Regions from separate parts of the Homo sapiens genome. Here region 1 is linked to region 2. Evidence: promoter capture Hi-C in 16 types of primary human blood cells and fetal thymus (Javierre and others, 2016). All regions are on one chromosome and are shown on one strand. Each heading gives the region's core, a stretch centred on a gene start or on the middle of the fragment in contact. The rest is flanking DNA. Distances are from core to core; before and after follow the strand shown. Region 1 has its middle 27 kb from the start of ZNF295-AS1. Region 2 holds the start of UMODL1-AS1 (UMODL1 antisense RNA 1).

Evidence for each region. Contacts are between HindIII fragments. The CHiCAGO score rates a contact against its expected background, and 5 or more counts as called.
Region 1: a contact is called between a fragment that was not itself captured here and the fragment with the promoter of UMODL1-AS1 in region 2, in 1 of 17 cell types (M0 macrophages). The highest score is 5.3, in M0 macrophages.

Annotation. Positions count from the first base shown.
Region 1 is chr21:41,979,357-41,986,012 of GRCh38, forward strand. No RefSeq gene overlaps it. Among named protein-coding and RNA genes, the nearest start is that of ZNF295-AS1, 27 kb to the right of the region's middle. The HindIII fragment of the contact is 4,309 bases long and covers 532-4,840 here.
Region 2 is chr21:42,104,988-42,111,602 of GRCh38, forward strand. It overlaps UMODL1-AS1 (UMODL1 antisense RNA 1), which reads right to left and starts at 3,547. Exons shown (of 2, transcript NR_027243.1): 1 at 3,309-3,547. It overlaps UMODL1 (uromodulin like 1), which reads left to right. Exons shown (of 23, transcript NM_001004416.3): 10 at 4,575-4,712; 11 at 5,893-6,134; 12 at 6,519-6,615. RefSeq lists an enhancer at 2,696-2,815 and a silencer at 2,792-3,086. The HindIII fragment of the contact is 14,881 bases long and covers 2,400-6,615 here.

The sequences.
Region 1 (6,656 bases), core at 1,436-3,935, 130 kb before region 2:
AAAACCTCTTTTCTTTTTTAGAAATTCCATTTGTTCCTTTCTCAAATCTGCCTGTTCAGTACTGATAGTGTCCAATTACTTGTCATCTTATTGTTTCATGTTTCATTTATTTAAACGTTTCATAAGTATCTGCTGTGTACCTGGCACATGACAGTGGTGATGTCAGCCGTCTCTGATGGTCTAGTTCTGTTGCTGGTTGTTTCTGCTGACTCTCATTCAAGGGGTTGCTTGCCTGCTCATGTGTTGAGTGTGAGCCCTTGGCTCGATCTGCTGGAATCATGAAAGTCTAAATTTGTGGTGCTTTCACAAATACAATTGTTGTTGGATTCACTGCAAACCACAGGTGTCACGGACTTGAAACCATGAGTTGGGGAACCCCAAGACCAACCCTGGGTTCAATGATTGGCTAGGAGGACTCACAGGACTTGGTAGAGAGTTGCACTGATGGGTGTGACTGATTACAGTAAAAGGACACAAGGCAAAATCAGCAAAGGAAAAAAAGGGCATGAAATCTGAAAGAAACCAGGAGCAAGCTTCCAAGAGCCCTCTCATAGTGAAGTCACACAGGATGCATTTAATTCCTTCAGGAACTACTTGTGGCAACATGAATGAGACATTGCCCCCAGGGAAGCTCGTTAGAGACTTGGTGCCAGGGTCGTTACTGGGGGCTAGTCATATAGGTGTCTTCTGCCCAGGACGCATCAACATTCCAGACTCTTGGAAGGAAAGCGGCTGTTCAGCATGAAGTGTATGGTTTGTACACGTTTAGGCGCAGTAAGCCACTGGGTTTATCAGGGACAGTGAGAACCTCCCCAAATCCAAGTTCCTAGATGCCAGGCAAGACCTAACCTTGCCTCCTCTCCCAGGAGAGCTGTGGTTACTCTTCTCTGTACACCTTGTCAGTCCCCACCCACCTTGCAGGGTCCCGATTCAATGTGGGTGTCACAGGCTCAACTCCCCTACTTTGTCAGTGTGCCCAGACAGTGACACTAGGAGTGTCCACCATCAGGTCACTGAGCTCTGCCTAGCTCAAGAGTTTTGTTGGCTTCTTGGAGGTAAGTTGAGGAAGGGCTTGGAAAACTCCCTACTCTTATAAGTCTGGCATTCATCAAAAAGTGTGTTTTGTCAAGAATCTGAGTGCTTCTCAGAGCACCTAATTCATCCTGTGTCAGCTATAAAAGCCCCTTATTTTTTAGAGGATAAAAAAAATGTCAATAAGAATTCATAGTCACAGTTATCCAGGCTAAAAAATACACATGAATGTTGGGAGGTTGTCATCCACTGGACAACTTTTCCAACAGAAACTTTAGAACCCCAAGTTTCCATTTATCTCTATTGGAATCTGTTTCTCCCTGCTGGCTGCATGCCTGCTTCATTTCTTCCTTTAATCAGGGCCAACTTATTCATTAGGCACAGGAGACAAAGTGCTTAGAGCCCCTGGCACTTTTAAGGAACCATAAATTTTTTTTAATGGACCACAATGTTTTAGTTTATTTTAAAATCAGAAGGAAAAAAATGAGTTGTTAGGGGTTGAAGAAAAGTTTATTTTTAATACAGCTTGGATTATATTTGCCCTTATATCAATGTAGTTGCAAAATATGACTTTGTATATATTTTGTGGAGGAAGTGTGTCCCCAAAGTGTCTAGGGCCCACAAGAGTTATGATGCGACCCTGCCTTCATGGTATTAAAAAAAAAAAAAAAAACTAAAACCACTTACTGGGGACATAATATGCTCCTAGACCTGTGTCCTAGCATTGGCAATGGAAATATGGTTATTCCAAATAACAGAAATAACAGAATTTCCAAATTGTATAAATTTTAATATTTTTCCTGAGCTCTGGTAACTCTTCAACTATAACTCTTTGGATCATCAAGTAAGTTTCCAGCGAAAGAGCTTTAGCTCCTCAATTATTGGTAGCCTTTTCTTAGTGACAGGCTAGAGATTTTTCCAAACTATTCACTCTGACAAATCAGGAAAAGCTCCCACTCAATGTTTCTAAAATAATATGGCTGTGTAGGGGCTAGACATGAAGCCTAACACTTCTTAGAGGACCAACAGCAGTTGATGTAAATCATTTTATTTAAAGGGCTAGTAAGTTATTTTGTACTTAATGCTTTCACCTAACAACAAGTCAGACAGACATGTTATTTTTATAACATCAAACTTATACATTATTCAGTAATCTATCTTTGGTCTTTGGTTTTGTGAACAGAAACTGGCTCTTTTGTTCCATGAACTCCACTTGGAAACCCAACTTTCATGCCCGTGAAAACCTACTTTTAAATAATAATGGGGACCCTCAGAACAAAATCTCTGCTTCCTTACACACCAATTTCTGTTTCAAGTGGTAGAAATAAAGTTTGCATCCTAACTTCCTGATGTCTTTATCACATGAGAGAAAAGATCTAGTGTTTCTGCCATTTTAACTACATATCATCGGTCACCAAAAACACTGAGAACCCAAAGCAATGGCTCTTCCTCCAGCCATCAAGCTGGACACCACCCCAGCCTGGTTTTGTAGAGTCCATCCTTGCCACCCAGGTCATCTGAAGACCTGGCCAAGGGAAAGGGCTAATGGCAGATTATGACCCATTATCAGCTTATAAAATCCACATACTGGATTGTGACCAAGGTTTTTCACTGTGAATGAATAAAATAGGCAGATTTACTGTGAAGCTGAAGTTCCAGGTGCCTCAGTTGTCAGGAAATTTCCAGGTCATAAATATCTCACTATTTTATAATTTGTAATATTTTATGGCTTTGTAAAACTGTGACCGTGCATATACCAAACAGGAGAGAGATGCCTGTCTCTTTCCATCCTGACCTTCTCTCCCATAATTTCTTTCATGATGGTTGCTGCTAAAGTGACCATAGGCTTTTTCAGACCTGACTAAAGGTGAGTTGAGGAGGAGATAAAGTTCATCTGAATTTAGTGAGATGTGTGTAATTTTTTTTTTAAGTTTGAGAAAATCTCTACTGAGTTCTTTCATAAATAAGCTGCTTAGAATTTGGGAGAATTTTCCACTGGCAAACTTCTGGCATAGCATCCCCAGACATACAGGGCTAGGTGCTTTAGGACATATTAGCTAACTTATCCATGACAAAATAACAAGTTCATTTCCACTTCTGGGCAAGATGAAATCATAGAGCCTTGATTTTCCATCTTGCGTGAAATGACTAAATTCCAGACAAAGCATATGAGTGATTTTCAAAACACTGAACATAAGGCAACAAAGAACAGTGATCACCGGGAGATGAGAAAGAGATGGGATAAACCAGCAGTGTTCCTGAGTTGAGGAGATGGAGCTGGGAGTCCAGGAAGGGAAAGGCGGCTAGGGTTCTAAGCATAGTGTGCTGGAAAAGGGAAAGCCTGAGAGTGAGCGAGCGCGCGCGCGAATGAACAAGAACGAACTCTGGAGGTCTGCAGAGAGGTCCCTTGACTCTTCAACATGTAAGGAAACTTCTTGAAGCTGGTTAAAAAAAAAAAGCAAACAAACAAAAAAACTCAACAAAACACATAAGCATTAGAAGGAACAATCCCTGGAGTTCATACAGTGCTTGAAGTAATTCAAGGGCATTGAGTACAGGGGGTGTACTTGCCTCAGTAACGGAACAAAATTAGCCCGCATTTAAATTCTGCTCTGATCCCATTTAATACCATTTAAAAGCAAAACCTGGATAAAATGGTTTCCAAGTAAGTTAATTACATCCCCCCAATAAAGCTCCAGAATATTTATAGAAATACAAAAACAACCAGCACCCATGGGGTAAAGTTCACAATGTCTGCAATTCAACAAAACATTACCAGACATGCCAAGAGGAAACAAAAAGGTACCCAGAATGAGGAGAAAAATACATCAATTTAAAACAAACCTAGAAATGGAGTAGATGATAGAATTAGTAGTCAAGGACATTATAAAGGTGTTCTAACTGTATCCCATATGGTAAAGAAGCCGGAGAAAAGATGGAATGTGTTAAGTAGATACATAGAATATATACCTAAAATTCAAATCAAACTTCTAGAGATGAAAACTACACATCTGAAATGAAAAATACACCAGATGGCATCAGTGGCAGATTAGACATTGCAGCAGGTTAGTGAACTAGAAGACATAACAATAGAAACTATCCAAAAGGAAACACAGAGAAAAAAGAGAACAATGCACCAGAACAATAGTGATTTCTGAGACAATTTCAAATGGCCTAATATAAGGTCATGCATCCTAATCAAATTGCATAAAACTGGTAATAAAGAGAACTTTAAAAAAGCAGCCAGAGTAAAAAAGACATACTGTATACAGAGGAACAAAGGTAAGGACAGCAGGATTTCTCACTGGAAATAAAGCTAGAAACAGTGAGCAACATATTTTAAGCACCACAAGAAAAAAAAGCTATCTAGAATTCCATGCCCATCAAAAATAGCTTTCAAGGTTGGCAAAATAAATATTTTTTAGATATACCTGAGCTGAAAGAACCCAGCATCAGTAGACCTACACTAAAAGAAATGTTAATGTCTTTTGAGCAGAAGTAAAATGATATCACAGGAAACTTGAATCTGCAGGCAAAATAATGAGTACCAGAAATGGAAACTTACATAGGTAACTATAAAGACTTTTTTTAATTAAATATCTTTAAAAGACAATTGACCATTTAAAGCAAAAATAATAACAATGTATTTTGGAGCTTATTACATATACAAAAATAAAATGGCTGGTTTCAGGGCTCTGGCAGGGAAAGAGGGAGATGAGTCTGGAACATCTTGTTGTGCCAGAAATTAAGAAAAAAAAACCTCAGGCTCTTTAAGCATTTTTCTTACTTTGCTGAGAGGATATGTCAAAGCTTGCAGCAGCCTGGTCTGAAACTCCTACTAAATTTAGGATAATTTGAACATCAAAAAAATAAAAAAGGTGGCAACTGATTAGAAACCATTGAACAGAATAGGAATCTATGAATCCACAACACATACACATGTAAATTAGTAAGTTAATGGGAATTACAGAACATTTTTTTCCTTGCAGTAGAAAGCCCACAAATAAATGAAGAGGGAACGATGGATGAGAAAACCTCCATTTGGCAACAACTGTAAAAATAAATTAATTCAGGCAAGGAACATCAAGAGATGCTAAAATTAGTGGGTAGAATTGAGATGAGGAGTAGAATTTTACATAGTCTCAAAATATCTCCCCACAAAATACTTATTAACTACAAATGGGGGCAAACATAGTGGAGACGTTGGCAGAAGTCCACCTTAGTCAAAGGATTAAAATGAATGCCATCAGCAACAGGGCATACAGGCATCAGATGCCATCCATAGGTTGAAATGAAGAGAATAGAGCTTCTGTATATTTTGACCCCAAAACGCATAGTGATGGTCCAGTCATGAGGAAGCATGGGACAAACTCCAAGTAAGAAACACTCTACAAAATGACTGGTTCACAGTCTTCCAAATGATCAAGGCCAAAAAAGCCAGAGAGAATAAGGAATATTCCAGACTGCAGGAGACTGGGATACCTGAGAATGGGGAATGGGAGTAAAAAGAAAAACAAGTCTGTTAATGGTTTACAAATACCACCACACACCTGTACAGTGCTTCACACACAATAAGCACTCAGAATTAGTTACTATTCCTTTTCTTAGGTTTACTGATGAGTTTATTAGGCAACTTTCCATACTTGGGTGTCCTAAGGGGGACCTTGGCAGTGCCAAGGATGCACATGGATTGTCACACATCCAGAACAATCACAGCAGCACAGAGTGCCCGGGATTCACAAAGTTCCAGGAACTTGTCAATCTAACACCAGCCATTCAAACATTTCCATTCTCCCTTGGGCTTACTGAGAATCACATGAAATTAAAATACACTATGGATCTCTGTGTAGGTGAAATCAAAATCTGGAGACCATTTGCAGAGATCTTCACTAACTTTCCTATATTAGCTAAAAATAAATTGGTTGACTGTTGCCTCAGACAAAATTTCTTTGCTGTATTTATCAAATACTTAATAGGCACCTTCCCTTTGCCAGGTCCTGGAAACACAAGAATAGCCCCTATCCCTGGGTCCCTCCTAGTCTAGCAGGATAAACCACACGCAGATGAAACAGAAAGTAATAAGTCAAATGACAGGCCGATATCAGGGTGTTATGGGGAACACTTAGGAGGGGCAACTGCCGTGGGCTGGGGTGAAGAGCACCTGGAAAGGGACCAGGAAGTATTTTCTGGAGGAAATGATGCCAACCACAAGTGGGATTTAAGACACTGCACAAAAGGCAGACTTGCATTATCATGAGGTGGATGAGCTGACCAAGGGCTCTCCTGTGGAGGACGGGGTCTGATGGCCAATAGCATGATACCCAAATTCATGCTGCAGCAGGGTTTCCCCATGCTGTATTTGTAAAGTGCCTCTATGACAATATGGCAAATCTCACACATACACCATGTATGAGGAACACCTGCCACTCAACTTTCCAAGTTCATAGAACTCAAGTTCATAAGAACTGAGCCAAGATTTTGCCTCTGGCTGGGGAAAATATTAAACACTGGGGACATGATTTTGCCACCACACTATTTACTGTCTTGAGTATGTGCCAAAGATTGAGAGGATGCAAAGGAGTGCAGCAATCCCAAACCTCACAAAGCCTGTTATTGCTAAAAAA
Region 2 (6,615 bases), core at 2,297-4,796:
GGCACCTCTCTGGTCGTCTCCCGGGGTGCTGGGTCTTGGAGCTCAGCCACGTGCTGGCTTCCTGTCCCAACCTTCCCCCACCAGGAGGTGCCGGGAAGAACTGGGTTGGGTGTGGGGGGATCTACTCTTTGAAGTCATGCCTGGAAACCTCGGCCTGGGGTTACTCTGTTCACTTGGCACTCCCTAAGGATGGGGATACTACAGTGGCCCCTGTACCTGGTAAGATCCCACCTAGCTGGGCTGCAGGGTAGGGCCTGAGGTTGGGGTCCACAGGGTATGCCCCCAGCAGGGTCCTCAGTGTGTGACCCCGTGATCCAACCTTCAGGCGGATCCAGCCTTCAGGTGGATGCCACCCAGCCCGCCCTCCACACCTCCCTGCCTCCCTCCTCCCATCCTCTGGGACTAGGGCTCAGGCGATTCCAGATCCCTGCCAAATGAGAACCTCGGCAGCAGGGATGTCGTGGGTAGAATGGTGGCCCCCTCCAAAAAGATATGTTCACCTGGAACTTCAGAATGTGACCTTATTTAGAATAAGGGTGTTTGCAGACACGATTAAGTTAAGGATGTCAAGATGAGGTCCTCCTGCCGTTGGATTTGGGTTGGCCTGAAGTTCAGTGACAAGTGTTCTTATACGAGACAAGAGGAGGAGACACAGACACAGAGGCCAAGATTGGAGTGATGCAGCCACAAGCCAAAGGACTCCTGGAGCCACAAGATAAGACACTGGAAGAGGCCTGGGAAAGCCCCTTTCCTAGAGCCCCAGAGGGAGGGCGGCCCTGCTGACACCTGGAGTTTGGACTTCGCCTCCGGAACGGCGGGAATACATCTGTGCTGTTTCAGGCCCCCCAGCTGGTGTGTTTGTGATGGCAGCCACAGGAGACCCGTGTCTTGCACCTCTAGGACTGGATGAATCCATTGTAAGCATTCGCAGCACCCCACTCCCCACGCTGTTCAGTGGTCCTGCAGAAGTTATTAAGCTCCTTCTGCAGGCTCTTGCCCGGCAGGGTCCCGGGCAGGCTGTGGCCTGCTTCCTCCACATTTCAGAGCTGAGGTGCTGGTGCGGGCAGGTCTCCTGAGCTGGGGGGTCAGCTGTGTGGCCAGTGATGGTGACGCCTCAGGCCGTGCATGGCCGGGGAGGCGGCCCTGCCTCTGCACTCTTTTGACTCCATGACTACTGGTGTCTTCGGACGCCAGAGTCGGGGGAGCAACCATGGGGCACCGCCCCTGCCTGGGGAGGCAGCACGAGGCCTGAGCCCAGCTTACAGGGGGACATCCACCCCCGCTGAGAGCCCCACCTTCACGGCGAGGATCTGTAGAAGAAGACATTTGATATTACTCGGCAAAAAAAACAAGAAACGAAAACACAAAAAGAGCTCCTCTGAAGAAGAAAAGGTATTTGCGCTGTGGTCCACCTAGAAATAATGTTGTTGGCACAACTAGAGCATTCCTCAGTCATTCAGGAGCACTCCCTGCCGGTGCGTCCACATGTCCCAACCCCGATAGATGAGGCGCTGTTCGCCCGTGGAGGGGTCAGGTTGTCGTGACCTTATCTTTACCCTTAGGCCGTCCATCCCGGGGCCTGGGGTTTCCTGCGCCAGTCACGGTGGGCTGTGTAGGTGGCCATGTGTTCGGTCTTTCCCCAGGAGGTACGTACCATGTGCTGGGAGGCCTGGAGGCTGAGCCGCCCCCCGCGCCTATGAGTTGCACCCTCACAGCGGCGGCCAAACCTCCTGCTCACTTTGCCCCATAGGAAGAGGTTAGAGTGAGGCGGAACGGGTTGGAATCCCAGCTCTGACACTCACTCACTGTGGGATGCTGCACAAATGACTTCCTCTCCCTGGGCCTCAGTATACTCATCTGTGGAATGAGATTACAGCAACATCCCACCTCCTATGGCGATGGAGTAAATTAAGGCACAATGCCTGTGTGGGTTTAGCCCAGTGCCTGTGCATGGCGACAGTGCATTTCTGATGGCCCCTCCAGCGTTCAGGGCTAACTCTTCCAGGATTAACTTTCATATCTTGGATGAGAGCTCATCTAGGAAGGTCTCCTAGCAACCCCTGGGTTCCCACTGGTCCTTCCGCCTCACGGGGCTCCTTTTTGAACCCCTCACATCATTTCCATTCAATCTCTTGCTCCTAACAGCACGGCCCCTATTCCTTCTCTTTCCCAACATCTGCTCTCAGGAGAGATTCTCATACAGTGTGCATTTGTTCTAGAGTGAGGGTCATCACTGGGCTTCTATGAGGCACCGCTGTGAACCCTCTGCACCGACCTTAGCCAGAGGAGCAGGACTCCCACCGGCATCCTTCTGCGTAAGAGGCCTTGTGGGTCTTCTGGGGCTCTGGAATCAACGCCGCTTTTCCTGGGGCCAGAGTAGGTGGAGCTGAGCTCCCCAAAGCTTCCAGTTTGCTGCCTGCTCCCACCCGCCTCGCCACTGCGCGAGCCCTTTCCATCCCCTCTGCAGAGTGAGAGAAGGGCCGTGAGTGAGGATCCTGGCCTAGGGCTGTCACCATCCCCCTCACCTGCTGGCCAGGCTAACCTACTGCAGGCTGCTTCCTTTCCTTAGGTTCACGGGTACCGCTATTTGTCCAGCGTCCATTTGCGGTGGCATTAGGATGAGGTGCTCTGTGCCCTCTTTCTCCCAGTGTGAATCTGACACACGCCCCCAGGAGAGTCCGAGGGGCATCACTTCTGGAGGACGCCCTGGGCCCTGAAAGACAGCTCATGGTCCAACTGAGGAGCCTGCACCTTGCTGGGACAGGGTGGCCCAGGAGATCTGGGGTCTGTACCTGCTCCTGGACCCTCTCCAGCTTGTTGTTCTGGGTGGGGCCAGCTCAGGAGGGGCACCTGGGCTGGGAGTCTCTGAAGCAGCTGCCCCCATTGCTCCAGGAGAGGGCTCAGCCCTTGTCCCAGCTGCGGGGCCAGTGGGAGCAGTGTGCAGCGTCCTGCCCTGGGCTCTCGCTGGCTCTGCGCCCTCGCCTGGCCAGCCCGGGAGGGTGCAGAGGCTCACTGGCAGCTCTTCCTGCTCCCACACCTGCCTCTTCCTCTGAACTGGAGGGCCGGCAAGCCTCAAGGCTTAATGCAAGACTAAATACAGCTGTCAGCGCCTTCCTCTGAGCTCGCTTGGGAGCTGTCTGGGGGGACGGAGGAGTGAAGATTAGGTGAATCACCACGCCCCAAAATAGACATCAGGTGCTTGGTGGTTTGAGCCAGCGTCTTGCCTGGTGCCTCTGCTGTCCTCCGTGGACTGCAGCCCAGCCAGCCTAGGCTCCAACCCCAACCCGGAGCACCCCCAGGAGAGTTACCTGTAGGCTGGAGGTTGAGTAGCACCCCAGGAAGAGGTGTGGGTTGGCACCAGCAGTGTTCTGATGGCAAGGCAGCCCCCAGGCCATGCTAGGGTGGTGGCATAGCTGTTGTGGCAGCTGACGAGCTTGCTGTTCTCCAGGGAAGCTGCTTCTGTGGAGACCGCAGGAAGCACAACAGAAAAAAACCCACAAAACGAGCCTCAGAGCACTCAGCAGCAGGGTTTTCTTTGCCCAGAACTGAACTGGTCCTGCATCGTGGCTTAAATTCCACCTGAATTGGAACTTCTCTGGCATGCCGGGTGTGGGTTCGTTCCCGAGCACCTCCACCCGCAGCTCTACAGAAGCACGCGCAGAAGGCACTGTCACCTCCAGCAGGGCCTGGCCCTGACGACCTCGGCTCAGCCACCCCATGGGAGCTACATTGTCCTTGTCCTCACCTTCATTCCCCTCAGGCGGGCCCCCCGGTGACATGACATCACAAGTCTTTGGGCACAGGAGGAGGGACATACCTGTGGAGACACCCGGGTGCTCTAGAATATGGCGCGGGAAGTTCATGTTGTACTCCGCTGGACCCCACCCCCGGCGTGGGAAGTTCATGTTGTACTCAGGCTGACCCCCACCCCCCCCACGAGAGAAGTCCATGTTATACTCAGGCTGACCCCCACTCCTGGCATGTAAAGCTGGTGTTATGCTCAGCTGGACCCCCACCCCCGGTGTGGAAAGCTCATGTTATACTCCACTGGCCCCCACCCCCGGCGTGGAAAGCTGGTGTTATACTCCGCTGGACCCCCACCCCCGGCGTGGAAAGCTGGTGTTATACTCCGCTGGACCCCCACCCCCCATGCGGAAAGTTCACGTTATACTCAGCTGTGTCCCCACCCCTGGCTCAGTTACTTTCCTATTTCTTGGTTGAGACACTAAGTATTGGAGAATGTTGGCACATCAAAGAGAGAGGAGAAAACATTTCAAGTTTTGGGTGTGGAAACAGAATAAAGAAGAGAGGGCTACATGCACACCCATGGGTGCTAATATTTAAGGAATGAACATTTCCTAATCTTTGCCCCCAAATAAGCCAACCAATGTGAAGGTGGGCACAGGCAGGCCGTAAGGTTGTCATGAGAGTGTTGGACGGATGCCCCAAAATGCCCCTGCTCCCGGCCGTTCACTGCAAAGACGGCTAGGAAGGACTCCTTCCAGCATGGGTCTGTCTTCTGATCACTCTTTGGCTGTTTTCTCATGGGTTTTGATTGTGTCTCCCCCTGGCAGACTGGGACGAGTGTGTGGACAGCGCGGAACACGACTGCTCACCGGCTGCCTGGTGCATCAACCTGGAGGGCTCCTACACCTGCCAGTGCCGTACCACCAGGGACGCCACCCCCTCCCGCGCAGGCCGGGCCTGTGAGGGTACGTGTCGACCCCCCTGCCGACTCTGGGAAGACCCCCTGCCCGAGAATCTGGGGGTGGGGCAAAGCCCAATTCTCCATAGGCACAGGGCTGAGGACCTATGGTAATGTTAGGGGCCTACAGAAATGTTTTCATTTCAATTTATTTTAAAATCAGAAGAAAGAAATTAATAGAAGGATAGTAAATATACATAAAACAATGAATCTAGCTTGGATTACACTCATCTCTATCTAAATGCCATTATAAAATGTAATTTTTGATAGATTGTTAAGTGGAGGGGTGCAGGGGTCCATGAAGGCCAAGTTCCTTGGGCCCACAGAAGTCAGGATGCAGCCCGGGGTCGAGGGATTCCTTCCCCAGTGGCCTGGAGCCCGAGAGGGTGTGGCCTGGAGCCCGAGACAGTGTGGAAGCCCAGAGAAGCTGCAGAGAGGCCCGATGGGGGCCGCTGAGCTCTAGTCCTGCTGTATCGGCCCCCAGTCTTTTCTGTGGACCAGTTCTGATGAGTGGGTCGGGGATACCTGGGATGCTGAATTGAGCAGCAGGAGGAGGCCACGTAGGGACCTAAAATGCAGTGACTGATTAGCAATGTCGGCCCGGACACAGGCGTGGCAGAGGCGCCCAGCCACTGGCTTGCCAGCCCCTGCTGAGGGCTTTCTAGCTGGAAGGAGCAGCCGAGACCAGTTCCCTGGGGAGAATATTCCTTAGACACTGCGTGTGCTGTCCTGCTTCCTAACATCCCACACCTTGTCTTCTGTTTTTCTCATTCGCCTAATGTCCTGCAAGTCGATGACAGCATCCAGCACCAAGTCCCACATTGAGCACAAATCTGGGGGAAATTGTCCCATTTTCCCAGAGTCCTGATGGATTAATCTGAGGCCTATGAGAACCAAGCCCTGCATTCAAGCCCGGGTTTTGTAGCCCCCCGGGTGGATCCCTCACCCTCAACTTCAGTTTCCTCATTTATCCAGTGGAGAGGCGTGATTTGCCTTCAGAGAGCCCCGGGGAGGCTGCAAACATGGGCCCAGGAAACACTCCTGAACGCTGGCGCCCGCCTGCGTCCCTGGCCAGGTCCACTCCGGGATGCAGAGCAGTCCTGCTGGACGGCCATGCTGCCCTCCTGGGAGGGCTCTTACTCGTGGGTGGGATCCAGCAGGCTCTGACAGTGGATGTGTCTTGGCAGGTGACCTGGTGAGCCCCATGGGCGGTGGACTGTCTGCGGCAACAGGGGTAACGGTCCCAGGTCTTGGCACGGGAACAGCAGCCCTCGGCCTAGAGAACTTCACCTTGTCACCCAGTCCTGGGTACCCTCAGGGCACCCCGGCAGCAGGCCAGGCCTGGACCCCAGAGCCCTCACCCAGAAGAGGGGGCAGCAATGTGGTCGGGTATGACAGGAACAACACAGGAAAAGGCGTGGAGCAGGAGGTGCCCAGCACTGCCCCGGGTCTGGGGATGGACCAGGGGAGCCCCAGCCAGGTGAACCCCAGCCAGGGGAGCCCCAGCCAGGGGAGCCTCAGACAGGAGAGTACCAGCCAGGCGAGCCCCAGCCAGAGGAGCACCAGCCAGGGGAGCCCCAGCCAGGTGAACCCCAGCCAGCGGAGCACCAGCCACGCGAACTCCAGCCAGGGGAGCCCCAGCCAGGGGAGCCCCAGCCAGGAGAGCCCCAGCCAGGGGAGCACCAGCCAGGCGAGCCCCAGCCATAGGAACACTATCGGGGTGATAGGCACCACCTCCTCCCCGAAGGCTACTGGGTCAACCCACAGCTTCCCTCCTGGGGCCACAGATGGCCCACTGGCCCTCCCTGGACAGCTACAGGGAAACTCCATCATGGAGCCACCCTCCTGGCCTTCCCCTACTGAGGACCCCACCGGCCACTTCCTGTGGCATGCCACCCGTTCCACCCGGG